Regions from separate parts of the Homo sapiens genome. Here region 2 is linked to region 1. Evidence: promoter capture Hi-C in human tissues and cell types (Jung and others, 2019). All regions are on one chromosome and are shown on one strand. The core of a region is centred on a gene start or on the middle of the fragment in contact, and the rest is flanking DNA. Distances in the headings are between cores, read along the strand shown. Region 1 holds the start of SARDH (sarcosine dehydrogenase). Region 2 overlaps VAV2 (vav guanine nucleotide exchange factor 2).

The links. Contacts are between HindIII fragments. The study calls those that stand out against the background at their distance.
Region 2: a fragment that was not itself captured here is called in contact with the fragment with the promoter of SARDH in region 1 in 3 of the 25 tissues and cell types used here (adrenal gland, ovary and spleen).

The regions. Positions count from the first base shown.
Region 1 is chr9:133,734,987-133,742,136 of GRCh38, reverse strand. SARDH (sarcosine dehydrogenase) reads left to right here and starts at 3,785. Exons shown (of 21, transcript NM_001134707.2): 1 at 3,785-3,883. The HindIII fragment of the contact is 19,009 bases long and covers 1-7,150 here.
Region 2 is chr9:133,809,399-133,816,548 of GRCh38, reverse strand. VAV2 (vav guanine nucleotide exchange factor 2) reads left to right here. Exons shown (of 30, transcript NM_001134398.2): 5 at 4,333-4,435; 6 at 6,344-6,358. Among named protein-coding and RNA genes, the nearest start is that of SARDH, 75 kb to the right of the region's middle. RefSeq lists enhancers at 1,747-2,500, 3,257-4,011, 4,012-4,767. The HindIII fragment of the contact is 4,157 bases long and covers 1,671-5,827 here.

The DNA.
Region 1 (7,150 bases), core at 2,536-5,035:
GGTTTCACCGTGTTAGCCAGGATGGTCTTAATCTCCTGACCTCATGATCTACCTGCCTCGGCCTCCCATAGTGCTGGGATTATAGGCGTGAGCCACCGTGCCCGGCCCCGAGATGATTTTGAAGCACTCCTGGCACCTGCCTGGCATAGGCTCAGCCGCCGGGATCCACCATGTTTCCATGGATTCCACCGCGGATTCCATCCACCATGTTTCTTTCACTCACAAACAGTGTTAGGCCATGGAGTGGAGAGGGTGCTCCGGGGAATGAGGATCTGCATTCCGGCCCTCAGGAGCCCGAGCCCACAACGGCCCCAGGCCACAACTGCCAGGTGGGGGTCACTTCAGCAGCTCATTCCTGGGAATGCCTGTGCCCAGATGGCTTCAGGCCTGGAGCAATTTCCACCTGCCTCTGTGCATCGGTGTCAGGCAGATGGGGGCAGCCACCTGCTTCTCAGGAAGGACCACCCTTACCCTGGGAGGGCATCTCTTCTACTTTGACAGAGGATAGAAAACATTCTGTCTTCATGAAATCACGGGGATATTCAGTGGTAGTTTTCTTTTTCAGGTTCTTATTGAAAAAATAAAATCTTGGCAGTGTAAATTCAGCCCTTGAAAATTGTTCTGGAAATTTCCCTGGCCCATGAATCACCTGGGTCTGGCACCTGTTGGCTGTGTTCTCCCTCAGTTTTCCCATCTCCACGATGGGTAGCAGTTGTTGCTGTCTCATTTGAGATGACACGTGTGAAGCCTTTAGCACGCTGCCTGACTCCCAGGAGGCCCTCAGAGGTGACTGGGGCACTGCCTTCCTCCTGGTCAGTGGTGATGTTGGCTCTTATAGTTTGGGTTGGGATGCTGTTGCTCATGTCCTCTTTCACAGGGCTGCACGCAGAGCTCGGTGGAGGAGCCTCCTCCCCCAACGCCTCCGCTTCTTCCTCCCTGGACTTCTGCCCCGTCAGAGGGCAGCCTGCAGGCACCTCTCTCTGTCCTGGAAGCCTGGCCAGCAAGTCGGGGCCAAGGGCTGGTGGGGGCCTGCAGAGAGGGCCAGCCTGAGCCAGAGGAAGAGTCTTGGGGTTGGCTCAGGTATGTCCAGGCCATGAGGGCAGAGGAACAAGTCTACCACAGTCCCCACTGGAGCGGTGGCGGGGAGGCTGGGGAGGGCAGTGAACCTGGAGGCAGCCCCTCACTCCTGAATGTAGAGTCAACTGTGACTTTGATTTGCACCACAGTTTTCTTCAGAGTGCACTAAACATAGAGTCATACTCATTTTACGAGACCAGCATTACCCTGATACCAAAGCCAGATAACATTACAAGAAAGAAAATTATAGACCGATATCCTTGATGAACATAGATGCAACAATCCTCTCAAAATATTAGCAAACCAGCTGGGCGCGGTGGCTCACACCTGTAATCCTAACGCTTTGGGAGGACGAGGTGGGGGGATCACTTAAGGTCAGGAGTTCGAAACCAGCTTGGCCATTCATGGTCAAACCCCGTCTCTACTAAAAATACAAAAAATTAGCTGGGCACGGTGGTGCGTGCCTGTAATCCCAGCTACTTGGGAGGCTGAGGGAGGAGAATCGCTTGAACCGGGAAGGCGGAGGTTGCAGTGAGCCGAGATCGTGCCACCGCACTCCAGCATGGGCGACAGAGCAAGACTCCGTCTAAAAAAAAAAAAAATTAGCAAACCAAATTCAACAGCACATTAAAAAGATCATGCACCGTGATCAAGTAGATTTTATCCCTGGTGGGGTGACTTCTTTGAGGTGGCAGCCCCTCTGTTGGTGTGATCTAGAGCAGGACTGAAGGAAATTTACTCAGGGAAATTTACAAGGCTTCTGTGAAACTGACATGGCAGGGCTTCCAGCCTCCTGTTCCAAGATGGGAAAACTAAGTCTCAGCAAAGGGAGAGGTGATAAGACCAGCCCGAGATCGTACAGGACCCTGTCTTGGCCTCCTTGTCCGGAGCCTGGCCTCTCCAGAGCTGTGACTACTAGTCCCTGGGGGGAGACAGCCTTTCCACCTCTCCCAGACCGGAGCTGGGTGCTAACAGGCCCTGCCGGATGAAAATCCTACGATACTAACAGACAGCTAACAGGCCGGGACCGGCCCCCAGCCACCACCCCTTGTCCAAAGTGCAGGTTCATTGTGCTGCCCTCTTGGCTTGTAACAGTTTTGCAACAGTTGCAACTTGTCTTTGAGTGCAGGGACAGGAGAAGTGTGGGCTACCCGGCCACTGCCCTGGAGCTGTGGTGACTGCTGCGTTTTTCTCCCATGCACTTGCACGTCCAGGACTCCTGGGAGAACTTGGGCCACACTCCTTCCTTGCCCTCTTGAGCTCATTCGTCACCCTGTTGGGTGAGCACAGCCCTAGCTCAGGCCACTGGGCAAGCCACACCATCCAAAGAGGAGGTCCTCTGCCCCAGGACCCCCACACCACCCCAGGTAAGCCTCAAACTGGCGGGGCCAGCTTTCCACTGGGCAGCCAGGGGCCTAAGCCAGTGGGCCCTTTGCCTTTGAGGCAGGGACTGAGAATGGTGTCAGCACGTGGTCAGGCCCAGAGCCCAGGCCCCCTCCTCTAAGAGGTCCTCCTGGATTCCCTGCTGGAAGGAAGCCAGCCTTGTGGTGTCGTGTCTCTCCCTGGATCTGTCTGCTTCGTGGACCCTGAGCCCCTCGAGGGCAGGGGCTGGGTCTTAGATGTCACTATAGGTTTCCCAGCAGTGCTTTGTACACATTGGGCATTCAGTAAATGTAGAGGATAGACAAGCTGGCAACAAGACAGTCGGACATCCTCGGTGTGAATAAGAACACAATGATTTGATTGGTATTAATTACAGCAGTTTACTATACGATCGCTTCCGGTATTGGCAGCTGGCATCATTACAATATTAACAGACTGCCATTGAAATGCCCCGTCTTTGATCCAGCGCGAGGAGGAGATGTGACTTTCCATCAGCACCTGTTCTGATTCTTTGGGCATCCAGAGGTGTATTCTTTCTGGGTTTCCTCCACACCCCTCCTCTGGGTGTCTACTTCTGTCTGGGAAGGGGTAACTTGCCCCAGCCCAGAGTCAGGCTGCAGCATCCGGTCTGCCTCCTCCACCAGCTTGCTGTGTGGCCCCCTCCCTGGGCACTGCTGTCCCCAACAGTCAATGGAGGCTGGAATCCCTGCCCTGGGGGCTACGTGCTGTGCAGTAGCCAGTGGCTTGGGGGCATCTCCCCAAACACCAGAGGGGTCTGGGAGCTCGGGAAAGCAGGACGCAGACAGACCAGGAGACCCTGTCCCTGGGAAGCTGACCCAGGCCTTCTCACTCGCCTCTGAAGGCAGTGAGCATCCTGTCCCTGGGGGTGAGCAAACTGGGGCATGTGCTGAGATGACCTCACCAAAGGAGCCTCCCTGCAGTGGACGGGCCCCTGGCCCAAGCTGCTGCTGACCCCACCTTTCCTGCCCACCCTGCCTGTGCATAGCTCCTTCTGGGCGCGGGGAGCTCGGGCGGCTCCAGCAGGCAGGTGGTGCCTGGGTCTACTGCAGCAACCCTGAGGCGCCTGTTTCAGAGACGAGGAAATGAGGGTTGGAGCGGAAGGGTGACTGCCAGGTCGCCTACGGGTAATGGGGCATGGGGTTCACAACCCTGCTCTGCCGCCCTCAGAGGGAGCTGCCCACAGGGCTGGCCTAGAAGCCCCAACTAAGCTGGCCTAGAAGCCGCAGTGGTGGGCGGTACGCTCCGCCCAGATCCTGGGCGGAGACATGGGGCTGGCAGCGAGGGTGGGGGGCGGGGGAGGCCTGGAGTTCCGGCCAGGCCACTGCTTGGGAAGCAAGAAGGTGAAGGCACCTCTGCTGGGCCAAGCACTCTTAGGGCCGAGGGGCACTGCAGCTGACAAGAGGTACTTGGAGGTACACCCCCAGGGAGGGACGAGGCTGGGGCCTCCCCTATGTGGGCGGGGCTGGGCCTGGTCAGATCTGGCTGGGATCTCCCTCTGCCTCTGGCTGCAGGGACCATCCAGCTGCATGAGCAGGACCAGGGTTCACCATATGGGCAGCTGCCTCCCCGCCCCCTGCCGCTCCTCCCCACAAGTCTGCCTACCCTCACCAGGCGAAGGTGCCAGGCGCTCTCCTCGCTTGACCCCCACCACCCCCTGAGCCTGGGAGGAGGAGGGCGTTCCTGGGTCCTCTGCTTTGCAGTGAGGTTAAGTTGTTGCTCGAGGCCCCAGTCCTGTGACAAAACCCCCACCCATCTGTCTGATCCCAAGCCCAGGGCTGTCCTCAGCCCTCACTCCTGGGAAGCTGACTCAGGTACGAGACAGAGTTGGAGGGGGCAAGAGAGTGGGTTAATGTGGAGGCAGCTGTTTCCAGGGAGGTGGCAGGCAGGAGGGGCTCTGGGCTGTCCCCGCTGGGGCCGCTGCCAGCCCCCAGTCTGACAGTCAGAAGAGCCCTGACTGACCAGGCAGGTGGTGAAGGGGCACGTGGCAGCCTCCGGCGCCAGCAGCTGTCGCTTTTTGGGCACAGTCGGAAGGAGGAGGGAGGCTTTTGCCCACAGCTGACCAGGTGTGCTGTGCCATGCGGCACCGTGGTGGGTGGTGGGTGGTGGGGTGGGGGTGTTCAGCCTTGGAGGGCCTTCCTCGGTGCCACTCAAGCTGGCTTTCCCCTGGTGGGGCACCACTTTTGGGGGCTCCTGGAAGACTGTGGACCTTCAAGGACTGAAGGTATGTACAGACACATGCAGGAGGCATGCCTCCTTGTCCGGGGCCACCTCTGCAGGCAGGAGCCAGGCGGGCTGACACACTGAGGGCTGAGAGGCTGAGGACAAGCTCCAACACCTCCTCACTCCCCTACGCCGCTGCAATCAGACTCCCTGCTCCCTCCCTTGGGATGGGGCACTGGGGCAGGAGATGGGGGGCAGCCCTGACCAGCCTGAGAGCTGGGATCCCCCTCACATCCCCCACTGTGCCTAGGACAGGGTTCTGGGCTTCGTCAGGGCTTGGGCAGTGCCCACAGTTCAGGTGGGACAGAGTGTGGCAGTGGGTCCTGAGTCCCCCTGGGATGGTCAGAAGAGGGGGCAGGAGAGAGTCCCTGGCACTGCCACATGGAGGCCCTATGACCCTGGTCACCTCAGGGAGCCTCTCCGTGTGTCAGACTCCCCCGCTGTGAAGTAGAGACATTATCATGTGTCTATAGGTGTTCAATGAGAGTGAACGAACGTGCATAGCTATGGTCCACTCTTGAAAAAGGATGCTGACTTTCTTAGATAATTATATCAGTCATTCATACTGACGTAGGTGGCACAGCACTTCACATCTTGGATCACAGCCACATCCCTTTCACTTTTCCTGCAGATCCCAGAAAAGGGCAGTGGAGGTCCACACTGGGCAGGACACCACCCCACCCTTCCATTGAGGGCTGTTGTGAGACCTCCGTTCTTAACTTCTTAGTTTAAAGAATTTAGGCTGGGCACAGTGGCTCATGCCTGTAATCCCAGCACTTTGGGAGGCCGAGGCAGGCGGATCACCTGAGGTCAGGAGTTCGAGACCAGCCTGGCCAACATGGTGAAACCCTGTCTCTACTAAAGATACAAAAATTAGCCAGGCATGGTGGCATGCACCTATAATCCCAGCTACTCGAGAGGCTGAGGTGGGAGAATCGCTTGAACCCAGGAGGCAGAGGTTGCAGTGAGCCAAGATCATGCCACTGCACTCCAGCCTGGAAGACAGAGTGGGACTCTTTCTCAAAACAAACAAACAAACAAACAACAACAACAACAACAAAACAGAATTTAAACATGAGACACACAGCAAAAGAGCTGCAACATAGAGCAATTTATTGCAAAAGAAAAAGAACATTTTGAAAGTTAGGTGCGGATGCACCCTGGGAGAGAGAGGATTCCAGGCGGGGGGCTGCTCCTGAGTGTGAGGCAGCATTGATGATTGTTGGAGAAACCCCCTTTCAGGGAGTCTTCCACAATTATTCATAAGTGGGTGGAAAGAGAGGAAGAGGTTACTAGGCAGCATGTGATGGCTGGTCCTCTGGGTGCACATGCGGTAGCTGTACATGTTTGTTCATACGTCACATGTCTCTTTCGCATCTTTTTTTTTTTTTTTTTGAGACGGAGTTTCACTCTTGTTGCCCAGGCTGGAGTGCAATGGCACAATCTCGGCTTACTGCAGCCTCCACCTCCCGGGTTTAAGCAAGTCTCCTGTCTCAGCCTCCAGAGTAGCTGGGATTACAGGCATGCACCACCACCCCCGGCTAATGTATTTTTAGTAGAGATGGGGTTTCTCCATGTTGGTCAGGCTGGTCTCAAACTCCTGACCTCAGGTGATCCGCCTGCCTCGGCCTCCCCAAGTGCTGGGATTACAGGCATGAGCCACAGAGCCCGGCCTCATTAGCATCTTAAAATCTCCACCGAGGGGTGTGTTTTTTTACTATTAGAATGAGCAAAGGGTCAGTTTGAGGACAGGTAAAATCAATGTGCACATGCCCTCTCCAGGGGAAAGGCCCTACTGCAGACAGCTTTGCTTGAACGAGCTCAGTTAACACGAGCTCAGTTACAGTGCAAACGTGGAGGCTGATTGTGTGGATTGCAGTCACCACGGTTGCTGCGTCCCCAGGACATGGTGACTCCTTTGACTGCCTGTCCTGCCTCGCCTGCACCCAAGGAGACATCCGTCTTCATCAGCGCCTTCTCTCCTGAGAAGGAGGGCTCCCTCTTGCATTCTCATTGTTATTGGATTTTTCTGGCTGGGCAGATCTGGGAGGGTTTCCTGAAGGAGGAGGGAGTCGGGGTGGGTCAGCTGGGAAGGAGCAGAGGGGAGGAAGGCCTGTTAACCCGGCTTCTGAGCCCCTACTCTGCAATCCCAGGTGGCCCCAAGGGAGCAGAGCCGGGACACCACATCCTTCATCAGCTTCCGCCTTAGTCCCACCGAGCTTTGGGGCTGATGAGGGGGCAACCCCTCTTGTCTGGGTTTGGGAGGGGCCTGCCCAGGAGGAGGTGCTGGCTCCAGGCTTGGGGGTTGGGTGCCCCGTCTCGAGGCTGCCTGCCGATACCCTGCGGCCACTGCTGTAGCATCCACGATGCCTCTCCCTCCTCCTGGCTCTCTGTCTGGGAGCGCAAGTGTCTCCATCACTCAACACAACCCCCTCCCTGCCCTGCTGTG
Region 2 (7,150 bases), core at 2,500-4,999, 74 kb before region 1:
GTGGATATTCCTATGGGAAAAAAGTGAACCCTGCTACTTCATACCACGCACATAAATTAACTTGAGATGAAATCAGAGACCTAAACAGAGTGGCTAAAACTATGAAGTTCCGATAAGAAAATATATTGTGATTGAAAGACAGCAAAGATTTCTTAGACAAGGCACAAGGATTTCTTAGGACACAGGACAGAGCCAGGATGCGACTAAGGAAAGGTGATAAATTAGGCTTTATTAAATTAAAGGTGAATGCTTGAATATCATTAAGAAAGTGAATAGCCAAGCTAGAGACTGGGGGAAGAATCACAAAACATATCTGACTAGTATCCAGAATATGTGAAGAACTCACCGAATTCAATAAGAAGACAGACAACCAATTTTTAGAAATGGACAAAAGTCTTGAACAGACTCTTCACAAAGGAAGGTATACAGTAAGGACGCAGGAGACCCCTCAGCAGCGTTAGCCATCAGGAAAGTGCCAAATAGAACCACAGTTCTGTTTCACTCCACACGCACTCTGGGGGCTGAATGGAAAAAGACCGGCAACAGCAGAAGCTGATGAGGATGTGGCGCAGCTGGGGCTGGTGAGCGCTGCTGGCTGGGGGTGTAGAATGCACCCACTTTAGAAAAGCATTTGTCAGCTGCTTATGAGGTTGAGTCTAGACCTCCCCTTTGACCAGGAGTTCCAGTCCTAGTGGAATTTTGTTTCCAAAGGAAAAGAAAGCCTGTGTAACCCCCCACCCACCACACAGGCGTGCGTGCATACACACGCACACACACAACTTGAATGCTCATATAGCAGCTTTTATTCACAATAAGCAACAACTTGGAGGCAACCCAAATGTCCATAAAGAAGGAAGATGGGTAGCACGTTGTTGTTCATGCCGTGGATTAGTACTCAGCAGTAAACAGGAATGAGCTGCAAATGTGGGCAAGTCAGAATGGATGTGTCTCAAACAAGATCCAATGTTGAGGGGAAGAAGCCAGGCACAAAAACAAATCTAACGCACAACACCGTTGACATTCTACAGACAAGGCTCGTCTGTGGTGAAGAACAGTCAGAAGGGTGGTTGCTCGGGGCGGGAAGGAGACTGATGGGGAAGGGCAGGAGCTCCGGTGAGATGAAAATACTCTATGGTGTGGGAGGGCATGAGTGACACAGGTGTAGCCACTTGTCAGAAAGGTACCACTAAGGGCGTATTTTGATCCTTAAAAAGCTTAGCAAAAATATTATGAGAACCCTATGCTTGGCATTTCTCACCAAGCTTCAGACGCAGCGGGTGCTACACAGACGTGGACTTGTACCTAGATCCGGGCGTGACAGTTCTGTCTTCAAGATGGGGCCAGGGAAGAGGGAGGCGGGCGGGGGACTCTGCCTTCCACACCCCTTTTCTAGGTCCACCCGGGCTTCAAAGCATCCTTCGAGTCTCATCTGTTCAGGAAGACTCTGACCATCCCAGCCTTCCCTATTCTCTCCCTCCTTAATATGTTTGGGCTCCAGATGGAGCTCGTGCCTCTTCCATCCCGGGATCAGTGGATCGTATCCTGTATTTCCCGGAATACGTTCAGGCCTTGTCAGAGCCGGGCACGTCGTAGAGTCCTCAGTAAATGGCAGTGCAAGGCCACTGCGGTGGGAGGCACGAGTGAAGGATGTGTGTCCATGGCATCTGAGAGACCTGCAGCAGCCCGGGCTGGGCTTTCCCATCTGCACTGTGACAAGCCTGGGGCTCCTGGGGGAGAGGAAAGACGTTGCATGTCGTCAGCAACCGGTTCTGGTCGACCTGTGATGGGGGCGGCATGGGGGCCTTTATGAACAGGCTCCTGAGTGGTGGGGGAGAGCCCTGGGCTCTGTTGGGACACCCCACAGTGTGGCCGTTTGCCATCCCTGCACGGGACGATCTCCAGGCCCCTGTCCAGGTCCGGCTTGCAGCCGTTTTTGATCCATGTCATCAGCTCTTGCAGCATTTAACGGCCAACCCCCCTCCTTCCACCTGGCCTGTTGGAGAAAAGCTGACGTCTGTCTCTAGACAGTCTGAGTGGCCTCATCTGCCCTCGAGTTGTCTCGTTCAGCAGCCTGGAAGCTTCCCTGTCTCGCCTCGCCTCCAGCTGTCAAGAGTTTTCGACAGAGGCTTTGCCGCCAGCCTCGCTCTGCCACGTGACGGAAACGTGGGGTGGCTGGCAGCCGCTGAGAACAACCCCTGCAGTCACTTGCCTGCATCCCTGGTAGCCTGGCGGGCAGAGAGGTGGGGGCTGTGTCCTTGGGGACAGCATCTGGAGAGGCAGGGGAGGTGATTTGTGTCATCGCTGGTGGCAGTTTCTAAGGCAGTCGCCGGACCTGGCTGGGGATGGACCTTTGAGATGGGTTAGTAAGAAAACCTGTGAGCTCACAAACACCCTTCCTGCCTTCATGTCTGTTCCCAGGGGAGCCTCTGTCACCAGAATGTGGGCCCAACCCGTCTGACGGCTGCCTTTACCCCGGCTTCAGTTCTCCCGCACGGCTGAGCGACACCCAGATGGACCTCTCATGGTGGAGGGCGGGTGGGGAGAGAGGAGAGGATAGTGAGCGAGGGCCACAGCCCTGCCCCTTGCTGGCTGTTTAACCTCAGTTTGTTTGTTTTAATCTGCACAATGGCCACAGTGCTGTTACCGCCAAGGATTCTGTGAGGCCCAAGAGAATAACTGTTTTTCTACAGGCGCTGGCACACAGAGGGGCTTGCCCATGGGTCGGTGGCTCTTTGAATGCTGGTTGGAGGGTTCGATCAGTCTGGTCTGTCCCAGGGCCATCTGCCCTCTGCCAACTTTGCTCCTCTGACCGGCTTTCATCCACCTCACTCACGACTGTAGTGGTGCAGAAAATGAAGTACCCGGAGCAACAGCTTCCTCCGCCTCCTTTGCCCGCCTGCCTGCGGGAGGCTCCACAAGGCAGGAGCTGGGCTCACCCCCGGCTTCCCCTCTAGAGAGGCACAGATGCTTTGCCCACAGACGGACGCCGTGTGGCTTGTGCATTGCAGCGTGTCCTCCAGGGAAGGTGCTGAGGGCCTTCCTCGAATGCACACGGGCCCTCCCTCTCTCAAGTAGACCTTGAATGGTCCTCCCCAACCCAAGCCTTAAAAGGCGACAGCTGATATTCAAAGGCGAGGTTTGGGATGAGGCCGTGGCACACAGCGTGGCTGGGGAACCCGTTCCTGAGTACCGCAGGGATTGCTCCTGCCCCGGCTTCTGTCCCTGCCTCGCCTCCCTGCGTGCTGGCCATGGAAGGGGGTGCTCTGCATTTATTTCCGTCCTTCTAGCAGTGAACTTTGCCACCCACTTTGAGCCCGGGATGTGAGATGTGTCCTTGTGCAGGGGTGAGGGCTTGCAGGACTGAATACACAACCTGTCTGGGCCTGGGGTAGCTCCTGCCCCTCCACCCCCAGGTGCAGTGAGCCCCCAACGGGGCCTGTGGGAACAGGGGGTGGTTGGATTGGCTCAGTTGCTGATTCAGTGAAAGACTTGCTGAGCCCCAGCAGGTCAGGTGTGGAGCATCAGGAGGGCTGAGGAAGCCCAGTGTGGGGAGGGGCCAGGCTCATCCGCTGCCACTCACAGAGTCACTGGAAATGTAGCCAAGGAGCTGCATCGAGTACACGAGCGTCTGCAAGAGTCCAGATCACAGACCAAGTGGGGATCCTGGTGGGTGTCTTGGAGGAGGTGGCCCGTGAGCTGAGTCCTGCAGGCAGAGGGGTGGCTTGTTGGAGTAGGACCATGAGCTAAAACAAAGCTTTATTGTATTAGATTTTGGTAGGAATTTCTTTGGCTCTGGTTTCAGAAGGCAAATGACAAACTCCGGGTCACCCTCCATGTACCCGGAAACTTTGCACCTTGGATCCAAGGACTGCAAGAGCCAGGGCTGAGCCGGAAGCACTCAGGTCTCCAGGTCACAGCCTTGGGCCAGGGGAGAGAGGCTTCTGTTCTGGAGGCAGGAGCTGGGGGCTCCTGTCAGGTAGGGGTGGGAAGATTCTGGTGAAGGCAGGGGTCCCGCCCCTGGACCTCTGGCCTACGTCCCCAGCATTTACCAAAGGGCTGGAGAAGTGGGTTCTTTGTCCTGGCAGATCCCTCTGAAATGCACCTAGTGGAGGCAGCAGGCAGAGCACTGGAGGATGCGCCTTACGCTGCCCAGTTCGCACCCACAGACGCCCTGCAGGCGGGGCCCACCCCACTTTGTAGACTGAGGCCCGGGCAGGTGACCTCGCTGTGGCCCCAGCCGCCTGCGTCCCTCGTGGACCCTCGTGCTCTGCGGCTCCCCGGTCAGGGTGGCGGGAGCCTCCCCTCCCCTCTAACCCGCCTCCTCCTGTGCAGCGAGCATGACCTGGGGGAGGACATCTACGACTGCGTCCCGTGTGAGGATGGAGGGGACGACATCTACGAGGACATCATCAAGGTGGAGGTGCAGCAGCCCATGGTGAGCCCTGCCCCGCTCCTCCCTCCCTTCCCCTCCCTTCCCTCGCAGAGCAGCCTGGCCCTTGCTTAACACAATACCGAGCTGTCCCCATGTCTGAGCCACCGAAGGGGAGCTGCTCTGGGTGCAGGGGGACGTCCAGAGGTGCACCCCTTGGTCCTTCCCAGTCCCCACGGAGCTCCTCTGAGGAGCATCCTTGGAAACCCTGGCTGACTCCTGGTCCACTCTGTGCCCTTCCTCTCTATGGAGATGTTCTCAGGTGCCCAGAGATGACACCACCACGGTCATGACCCCCGCCCGTGTTGCCATGGGATTCTCCTTCCAAGGGCTTGCAGGCCCCTCAGTTGTTCCTGCCCAGGGAGCCTTAAGATAGTAACTTGGCGCATGGTCTAACAGCACGCGTCATTTTCCCCCTTTGTGTGGAGAATGATGAGACCAATATTGGCCCAATTAGCCAGCTGTGCGTCTTTTATGTTTGGAGGATGTTTATTTCCAAGCAGGCACTGGCGAATAATCTCTCGGACGCCAGTTTGCTCCGCGTGGGTTTATTGCCAGCAGCTGCTATGTGGAAGGTGGGGATCCAGCGGAGCTGGAATGAGGAGACAGGGACCTGGTAGGGCAGGTCACAGGCCCTCAGACCCCCAGGCTCCCAAGAGTGGGTGAGATGCCACTTGCCAACCGTGGAGGCTTTTGATGCCATTGGCTTCCCCCAAAGAAATAGGAAATTTCTCAGAAAGCTGATTTCAGTGTTTTCCTTTAGTGTGGGAGTAACCAGCTGGTGGTGGAGAAGCAGAAAGCTGGGGAAACAAATCCCTAAAGAGGCCTTGCCCACTCTGCTGGCATCCTGCTGGGAGAGACAGGCAGGTGCAGGGCTGGGGGTCTCACAGCCCCCAAACTGACTGTTAAGAGCAGGTTTCTCTGCTTGTCCTCGAAGGGTCTCGACTGAGTTTTGTTCCCCGCCATAACCGGGGGGTCTCCCCCGAGGGATGGTGGCCCTTTGTGGAGGCAGCAGGGCCTCCAGTTTGCCTTCCCGGGGAGCCTGGCTGGGTAGCTGTTAGGGCTGGAAGACTGAGCCATGGCCCTGCTGCTGGGGGCTCCCCTCGCCTCCCCGGAGCTGGCCTGAGAGGTCCCGAGGCGGCCGGCGAGCCGTCTGGACTTGGGAATGAGCTCTGACTGGTCAAGGCCAGTTCACTCCCCAAGTTGTTTGAAAGCTGGGCGTCCTGCAGGTAAACTTCAGCAGGTGGCTGCGTTGCCTGTGAGGTTGTGTGGGGGATCCTGGCCCTGGATCCTGCAGGCTCTCTTTCTCGAGACCCCCATCCATGCCTGGTGAGAGTGGGTGCTCCCTGGAGCCCGCTGCTGTCCCTGGTTCTGAAGGTCTCAGACCTCTTTGAGAAAACGCATGTGAAAGGACATGGAGTGTCCACAGAACCTGCCAGGCTGGGGAACAGCGCTGCCTATGTCCCGCTCTGCACAGTGTCCTCATGCCCAGCGCTGGTCCCGCTGGTCTCGAGCTGTCCAGTCCATCCAGGCAGGGGCTGGGGGCAAGGGGCAGTTCCTGCTTCCTGCCAGGGTCCTCTGAGATAAAACAGCTGCTCCATGTCCTTCCCTGTCATGTCTGGAGCTCTCTGAACAGCCCCAGTGGAAGGTAATAGAGATGGTGACTTCCCCAAAGGAAGAAGAAGCCAGAGGATGGCAGATGCCATTTCCTGAGCCTGGGTAGGGGGCTGCTATGGGAGCTCTGGCCCATGAGCCATCGCCCTGCCCAGCTGGGCAGCACGAGGGGCCGTGATGTGGCTTTGGGTCTGTTGGCTGGTTGTGGGGTGGCGTTCCTGATGTCCCAGGCCCAGCTTGCCAGGACAGTGTGGGCCCTGCTAACCGGCGCTGTTTCTGGTTCTTTCTCCACGCTTGCAGATTAGATACATGCAGGTGAGTGGCCCGGAAGGGGAGGCTGGGGACGTCCTGCCTGCGCCGTCTTCTTGACCTTTCAGGGAGGTCTCAGACCTCTCTGAGAAAACTCGGGACCCTGCCCCCAGGAAGACATGGTCAGGCACACATGACTTCAGGCATCAGAGACCCTCGGCACCCCCGTGGTCCTGTACCCACAGCCCCATCTTGCACGTTGCCTTAGAGACCTGCAGCCTGGCAGACCCAAGCGGACCCTTGGGGATTTCTTGGAGGATGATGATGGTCTTAGGGCCGACACGAGCGCTGTGGGTCACAGCACCATTTCTCCAGAGCCTTCTGACAGGTGGGGTTTACCCAGCCTAACAGAACCTTAAAGACAGTGTTGGGAAAATCCATCACTGCCCCACAGTGACCCCACCTGTCACCTCACCCTGGACCATGGGCCAGGCAATCTCTAATCCTGTCCCGGCCACATTCCACCAGAGGTGGGGGCAGGCCCTGCTCTGGAGGAGGCTCCAGGGACCCTGCTGGCGGTGGGGGGTCATCTCAGGCCCCCTGGCTAGAAACCAGTGGACACTCAGGGGAAGAGTCCAGCCTGCAGGTGGCTGTACTGACATGTGCAATGGTGGATGTGGTCTGCATGGAGCCGAGCACACAGTCTGCCACGTAGAGAGGACTTATGCACACAGTAGGTGTTTTAGCAAGTCACTCCTGCTCCTGTGCTGGAGGGGGTAGCTTCTGAGGCCCTCACCCCAGTCTGGTGAAGAATCGAGATTCAGAATCAGAGGAGTAGGAGCCTGGGATTCTAGAAGG